2 separate regions of the Homo sapiens genome follow, and region 2 is linked to region 1. The links are contacts of gene promoters, found by promoter capture Hi-C in blood cells and fetal thymus (Javierre and others, 2016). All regions are on one chromosome and are shown on one strand. The core of a region is centred on a gene start or on the middle of the fragment in contact, and the rest is flanking DNA. Distances in the headings are between cores, read along the strand shown. Region 1 holds the start of PANK3 (pantothenate kinase 3). Region 2 overlaps LOC105377714 (a long non-coding RNA gene).

What was found. The method cuts DNA at HindIII sites, captures the fragments that hold promoters and counts their contacts. A CHiCAGO score of 5 or more calls a contact.
Region 2: a fragment that was not itself captured here is called in contact with the fragment with the promoter of PANK3 in region 1 in 2 of 17 cell types (naive CD4 T cells and total CD8 T cells); the score reaches 5.8 in naive CD4 T cells.

Annotation. Positions count from the first base shown.
Region 1 is chr5:168,577,930-168,580,985 of GRCh38, forward strand. PANK3 (pantothenate kinase 3) reads right to left here and starts at 1,439. Exons shown (of 7, transcript NM_024594.4): 1 at 1,327-1,439. The coding sequence starts at 1,354. RefSeq lists enhancers at 1,167-1,236, 1,327-1,870 and a silencer at 1,387-1,716. The HindIII fragment of the contact is 14,951 bases long and covers 1-3,056 here.
Region 2 is chr5:169,567,357-169,570,412 of GRCh38, forward strand. The region is part of intron 2 of LOC105377714 (a long non-coding RNA gene); the gene reads right to left. Among named protein-coding and RNA genes, the nearest start is that of SPDL1, 15 kb to the right of the region's middle. The HindIII fragment of the contact is 697 bases long and covers 1,091-1,787 here.

The DNA of each region.
Region 1 (3,056 bases), core at 189-2,688:
TTTAAAGTCTCTCTATATTACTTTTCATTTAAGCCTTCACATCACTATTTTATAGATTTCTTGAACAACTATGACAGGATCTATTCAGTTATAAATAATTTTTTAAAAATTTTAATTAACAGATGAAACTACCAGATAAAGTACTTAGACAATGCTCTATGGGTGCAAGAGAAAGAACACTGTATTATGAGTCAGTCCCCTTAGAGTTATGAACCACATAGCACATGGTTGGTACATGCTTGGAAAAGTTACTCTGGGGCTAAGTTCAATTTCCTCACCTGTGAAGTTAAGACCAAATTACCTTACAGTTATATAGGAATTTGTAGTTTTCACAGGGTTTTGGCTTGTTGCCTCTCAGGTGAGTTTTACAGGAACCCCGATAGGCGGGCAGGGAAGGTGTCAGCGCCCTGTTTTATAGTTGTGGATTTCTTAACAGTTAAAGAGATCACATGAAACACTGTAAAAACAGCAAAAGTATCAATACGACTCTAAGATGAGCATGAATCCCCACGTTCCTAGTCCTTCTGGGAGGCTATACTTAAAAAGAGTGACAATCACAATGGCTGGGTGATTAAATAAGTCAATTACTGGAATAAAAGGTTTTTAAAAGACTAAACATAAAAGGAAGCAAATGAAAGTCGACCTTTCTAAAAGCATAGTCAGAATTTAAGTACATGCATAGAAAAATATCTACGGGTATTCACCATAATATTAATAGCGGTTCGCTCCGGGTGCGGGGAATACGGGTGACTTTATCTTTCTTGTTTATCTGCGTTTTCTAAAACAAACATGAACTAGTTGATATTCTAAACAAAAACAAGCCAAAGCAATTACACACTGGCAGACTGCATGCACGTACGTTTGAAAGCTCCAACTGTAACAACAGTGACAACTCCCAGGAACCCACCGGCATTTCAAGGACACAAGCAGGAAGCCCGGAAATCCCTAAAAACAGGTGCTAAAAGCCGCCAGCGCAACCTGACAGCCGCGACCGCCTCTTTTCAACCTGAATTCAGGGGGAGCTGGGAGAGGAGACTAGTCTGGTTTGACAAAAATCAGAATCAGAAATTCCCTCTGGCACCTCCCAGATCTCGAAGAGAAAGTGGGAGGAAAGGCTAGGGGGCGGCAGGCATTCACCATGCATGAATAGGGGGATGGGGAGGACGGAAGCCTCGAACTCGTGGCTCAAATGGTCCCTCCGCCCCCATACCGGACGAAGCGCCGGCGAGGAGCGACGGGCTTGGAAGCCGACCGCCCAGCCAAGGGGCTTTCAGACGGGGCCCAAGGGTGCCCTCCCAACCTGGCGGGCCCCAGCCCCCGTCTTACAGGGTTTCTTGGCATCTTTGATCTTCATGGCGTCGGCCCGAGGGGCGATGGACGGCCTCCGATCCGGGGCACTGAGAGCAGAGGCGGCGACTCCGGAGGTGGCTGGGCCGCGCGGCGAGGCCCGGCCGGTTCCTCCCCTCAGGCCGGGCGGGGCCGGCCTAGGGCGGGGCGGCGGCGCCTGAGGAGATGCCCGGCCCAGGGGGCGGCCCCCCACCCCCGCGAGGGGTGGCCGGGACCGAGCAAGCTGGGGAAGGCCGCCGGCCTCGCCGCTCCGGGGCCCCCCCGCAGCCGCTCCAAACAAAAGGCCCCGGTCCCCGGAGCCGCCGCCACCGCCGCCGCCGCCGCACTGAGAAATAGCCCGCCCAGGCCGAACGCCCACGTGACGCGAGCCCCCCCTCGCTCCGCTTCCGCCCGGCTGCTGGGGATTGTAGTTCTCCGGTTCGTGAGGCCCCGCTCTCTGGCTGTAGTTGTGCAGGTGGACTACAAAGCCCGAGATGCATCGCGGCCCCTCCTCCGAGGCCCCTCAGCTTCCGCAGATCGCCTCAGAGTGGTCCCAGCGAGAAGAGGGCTGGGTCTTAGTCACGCCAGCGAGGAGGCGACCAATGGTGACTGAGATGGGCGTGCTGGGGAAGTCGGGCTCAGACCTCAGCAGGTCGCGGAGAGAAGGGGGAATGAACTCTTCGAGAGGACTGTCATGGCTGTTCGGCCATTCTCAGATTTCCCCTTGAGACAGGAAAGCTGGTCGTCAGGCCATGGAAAGCGCTACAATCAGGGCTCTAGAGCTGTGCTTAAGATAGACCCTTGAGTACATTGGCGGATTAAAATTATTCACAAAGGAATCCTTTTGCTTAATAGAGACACCTTGAATGTTAGGGTCGGAATGATGACAATAGCAGGAATAGAGGTAACATCTATGGAACGCGTTATGTTCATGGGACTCTGCTAAGCACTTTGTGTGATTTACTTAAATTCAGGGGCCTTGTGGACCACGTGCAATTATTCATTTTATTGTCACTCATTTTGAAGATGGGGCACGGTCTGAGGAGTTAAATTGCTTGCTGAGCATTCTTTTTGCCACCGATCCATATTCCCCTGGGGCCCTCCAGCCCAGCTCTCTCCTTCTAAAGGGAAAACTGACTCCCAGAGAAGAAAATTTAGTTGCTCCAGTTCTCACAGTAAAGCCAGGACACCCTTTCCCCTTGCCTCCTAGAGTCTTAGTCCTCCAGCTGGAATGGGAGAAGATGGCATTGGGTATCTTCTCTTGGCCTTCACTTTTGTTGCCCAGTTAGATGGCCAGGAATTCTGTAGTTTTTACAATAGATGGATAGAGGGTTGGCAGTAGAGGATTGGGCATTCCAGTCAAAGAAACCCGCTTACCAAAGAGCCTTACTGCCCCTTCTTGCAGATGATAAGCCAAGGGATGTGAAGAAGGACAGGAGAGGACACAAGCTACCATTTATTGAGTACATACCAAGGGCTGACACTTTGCAAAGTGCCTTACTTTTAAAATTTAAATTTAATCCTCCCAACTACTTTTTGAAATACAATGATTAAAAACTAAAAAAACTTGCTGGGCGCAGTGGTGTGTGTCTGCAGTCCCGGCTATTTGGGAGACTAAGGTGGGAGGCCCAGGAATTTGAGGCTGTATGTGATAGAGTTTGTGAATAGCAACTGTGTCAGAGGCATTTACCAGAGCGACTCCATCTTGAATAGGGATTGGATGAAATAAG
Region 2 (3,056 bases), core at 189-2,688, 990 kb after region 1:
GGTTAAATGAAGGTCAAGGGGTGGGAGGTGGAAGAATGAACCCAGAGCTTCAAAAGACCCTGAACCAAATCTGGTTAAACCAAGCACTGCTCAAGGAGGTTTTAGACCCTAAACCTAAAATGCAGCCAGAAACCCATACCAACAGTTACTCCTCTTTCAGAAGTAGCTGCAACAGCAACAGCAATGGAAATAAATATCTGGCAAACAGATTATTTGGCAGTTAGAGTTGAGTATGCAATTTTGGGTATACAAGTAGAGGTCTGCTCAAGTAAGACCAGAGTTTATTCTCCTCCTTCTCCTTCCCTTTCCTCCCCTCCTCCTCCCACTCCCTCTCCTCCTCCTCTTCCTCTTCTACTTCCTTGTTTCTTCTTCTTCCCTTCTTCTTCTCCTCCTCCTACTTCTTCCTTCTTTCTTCTTCTTTCCTCTTTCTTCTTCTCCTCCTCCTACTTCCTCTTCCTTCTCCTTCTTCCTCTTCATCTTCTTCTGCTTTCTTCATCCTCCTCCCTCTCTTCTTCTCCTTTTTTTTTTAAGAGACGGTCTTGCTCTGTGGCCCAGGCTGGAGTACATGGAGTGCAGTGCCACAATCATAGCTCACTGCAGCCTTGAACTCCTGGACCCAAGCAATCCTCCTGCCTCAGCCTCCTAAGTAGCCGGGACTACAGGCATGCACCACCACACCCAGCCAATTAAAAAATTTTCTTTTAAGGAAAGGGGTCTTGCTATGTTGCCCAGGCTGGTCTTGAACCCCTGGGCTCAAGTGATCCTCCCACCTAAGCCTCCCAAGTAGCTGGGATTATAGGCTTGAGCCACAGCACCCAGTAGAGTTTCTTAACTGGTATCCATGCACTGGCTAGTCCATAAACCCTATGATATAAGCAAGCCTCTCTCTCTCTCTCTCTCTCTCTCTCTCTCTCTCTCACACACACACACACACACACACACAATCTATAGGTAGATAGAGATCTGTGTGTGCGTGTGTGTGTGTGTGTGTGTGTGTGTAGCAAGGGGGCTGTGTACATGTACATTATTTTTTCTGGGAAGAATTCTTATAGATTTCATCAGATTCTCAAAGGAGACTGTAACCCAGTAAAGCTTAGGAACTATCATCTTAGACCAAGGATCAGTATCCTTTAGAACTTGAGCTGGAATATATAATTCAGCCACAGAAGGCTCTTGGTTAGAATGAATGTCATGGAATACTACTTCCACACAAACCCCAGCTACTGACACTCACCCTCAGGGTTATAAAATGTCTCATGCCTTGTGAGTTCAGTCCTTTGGACAGGAAGCTAAAAGTTTCATGTTCGTTATATATAAAGATCCAGGTTAGGGATTTTAAAAAACACATTACTATGTTAGCTAGCTGTCACTGCACGGTAAACCACTCAAAATTTAGTGGTGTTATTTACTTATGAATTGGTAATGTCAGCAACATGGATTAGGTTCAGCTAGACGATTCTTTTGCCTAGGAATTACAAGGCATGGGTTTAGAATCCCACATTATTTTTGCCACATTCATTAGTCAAGGTGCATTACAAGGCCAACCCAGATTCAAAGTTGTTGAGAAACAGACTACTTCCTCATGGGATGAGCTGCAAAGTCACACTGCAAAGGGGCTGCTCATGGAAGAATCACTGCGGTCATCTTGAAAACAATCTTCCACAGCTACATGCTGAAGAATTCATAGTTAAAATAATGTTATCTGTGATTTGCTTGAAAACATCCCAGAAACAAAAACTGGTGGGAAAATAATTGAAAGAAAAATGGCAAAAAGTGATCATTGTTGAAGCTTGATGATGGGCACATGAGGGTTATTTACATTAGTCTTTTTACTTTTGCATGCATTTGTAATTTTTTAAATTAAAAGGTTAAAATTAAATTAACAAAACACATGCTCTCTATGAATCCTTGTAACAATTATCTTTTCCCCTTTTACATGTGTGGACAGTGAATAGGGGGCAGTCATGTGACTGGTCATTTCTAAGGTCACTCATAGAATAATAGCTAATATTTACTGAAGACATAAAATGCACCAGCGCCTTCCCAACATTGTACATCATATCTCATTTAGTCCTCACGATACTACGCATCAGGTAGTATTATTGTCTCCATTCCTAAGATAAGAAACACCAGAAAGCTGACCAAGTTTACAAAATAAGTAGTGAAAGCCTGATTTGGATCCAAGAAATGTGGCTTCAAAGCCTCCACCCTATGAGGAGCAAAGCTGAGATTAGAATCAAGCTCTGTATGGCTCCAGCAGCAGGACCTCCCACTCCACGGTGCTAGGCTGGGACTTTCAGAGCTGGTGCTTCCCACGTCATTTTCCTTCGCTATACTGCCTGTCTGAATTTCCCTTCCCAAATTTGCACATTGCACATTAATACTGCACACTCAGTAGGGATCTGACTAAGTGGCCCACTTAGGGGCCCACTTAGTGGCTCACTTAGTCAGTAGGGATCTGACTAAGTGGCCCACAGCCCACTTCCCATAGGTGGAACACCTCTATTTTCTTCTACTAAATATATAATATATCTGTAAGTGCTTTATAAACTGTAAGGTAATTTGAAAGGTTCACTTGTTCTACAAATTAAGTAGCATTTTAAATGAACAACTAGTTGAAAAATTATTTTTAAGACTCTCCAAAGAAGTTAAATCTTGTGGTAAAGCTCTCCTTTGGAATTGTCCTTACCAACATCTGCAAGTGCAAGCGCGTTTTCGTTCAGGGTGAGAATTGTAGGTGAGAATCATCATTGTAGGAGGAAAAGCAAGAAGATTCATGAAGTGGGAGTTTGGGCTATCAAAGTTTGTTTCCAGGAATGACCTAAGAAGAACCAACTGGGAGCAGCTTGGGATTTTTCATTTACTCTTCCTTCAGAGTGAAGATACTCTGTGCTACTCCTAAATGCTCTCCTGTCTATGTGTTAGAGCCTCAGCCACTCCAGCCTGAGGCTGTAGCTTGTCACTCCCGACTCTGAGGAAGTAAGAGAGACAATGTACCAAAATACTCAGCAGGAAAATCAGAGTGGAGGGATTTCACTCCCATGTTATACGAAATA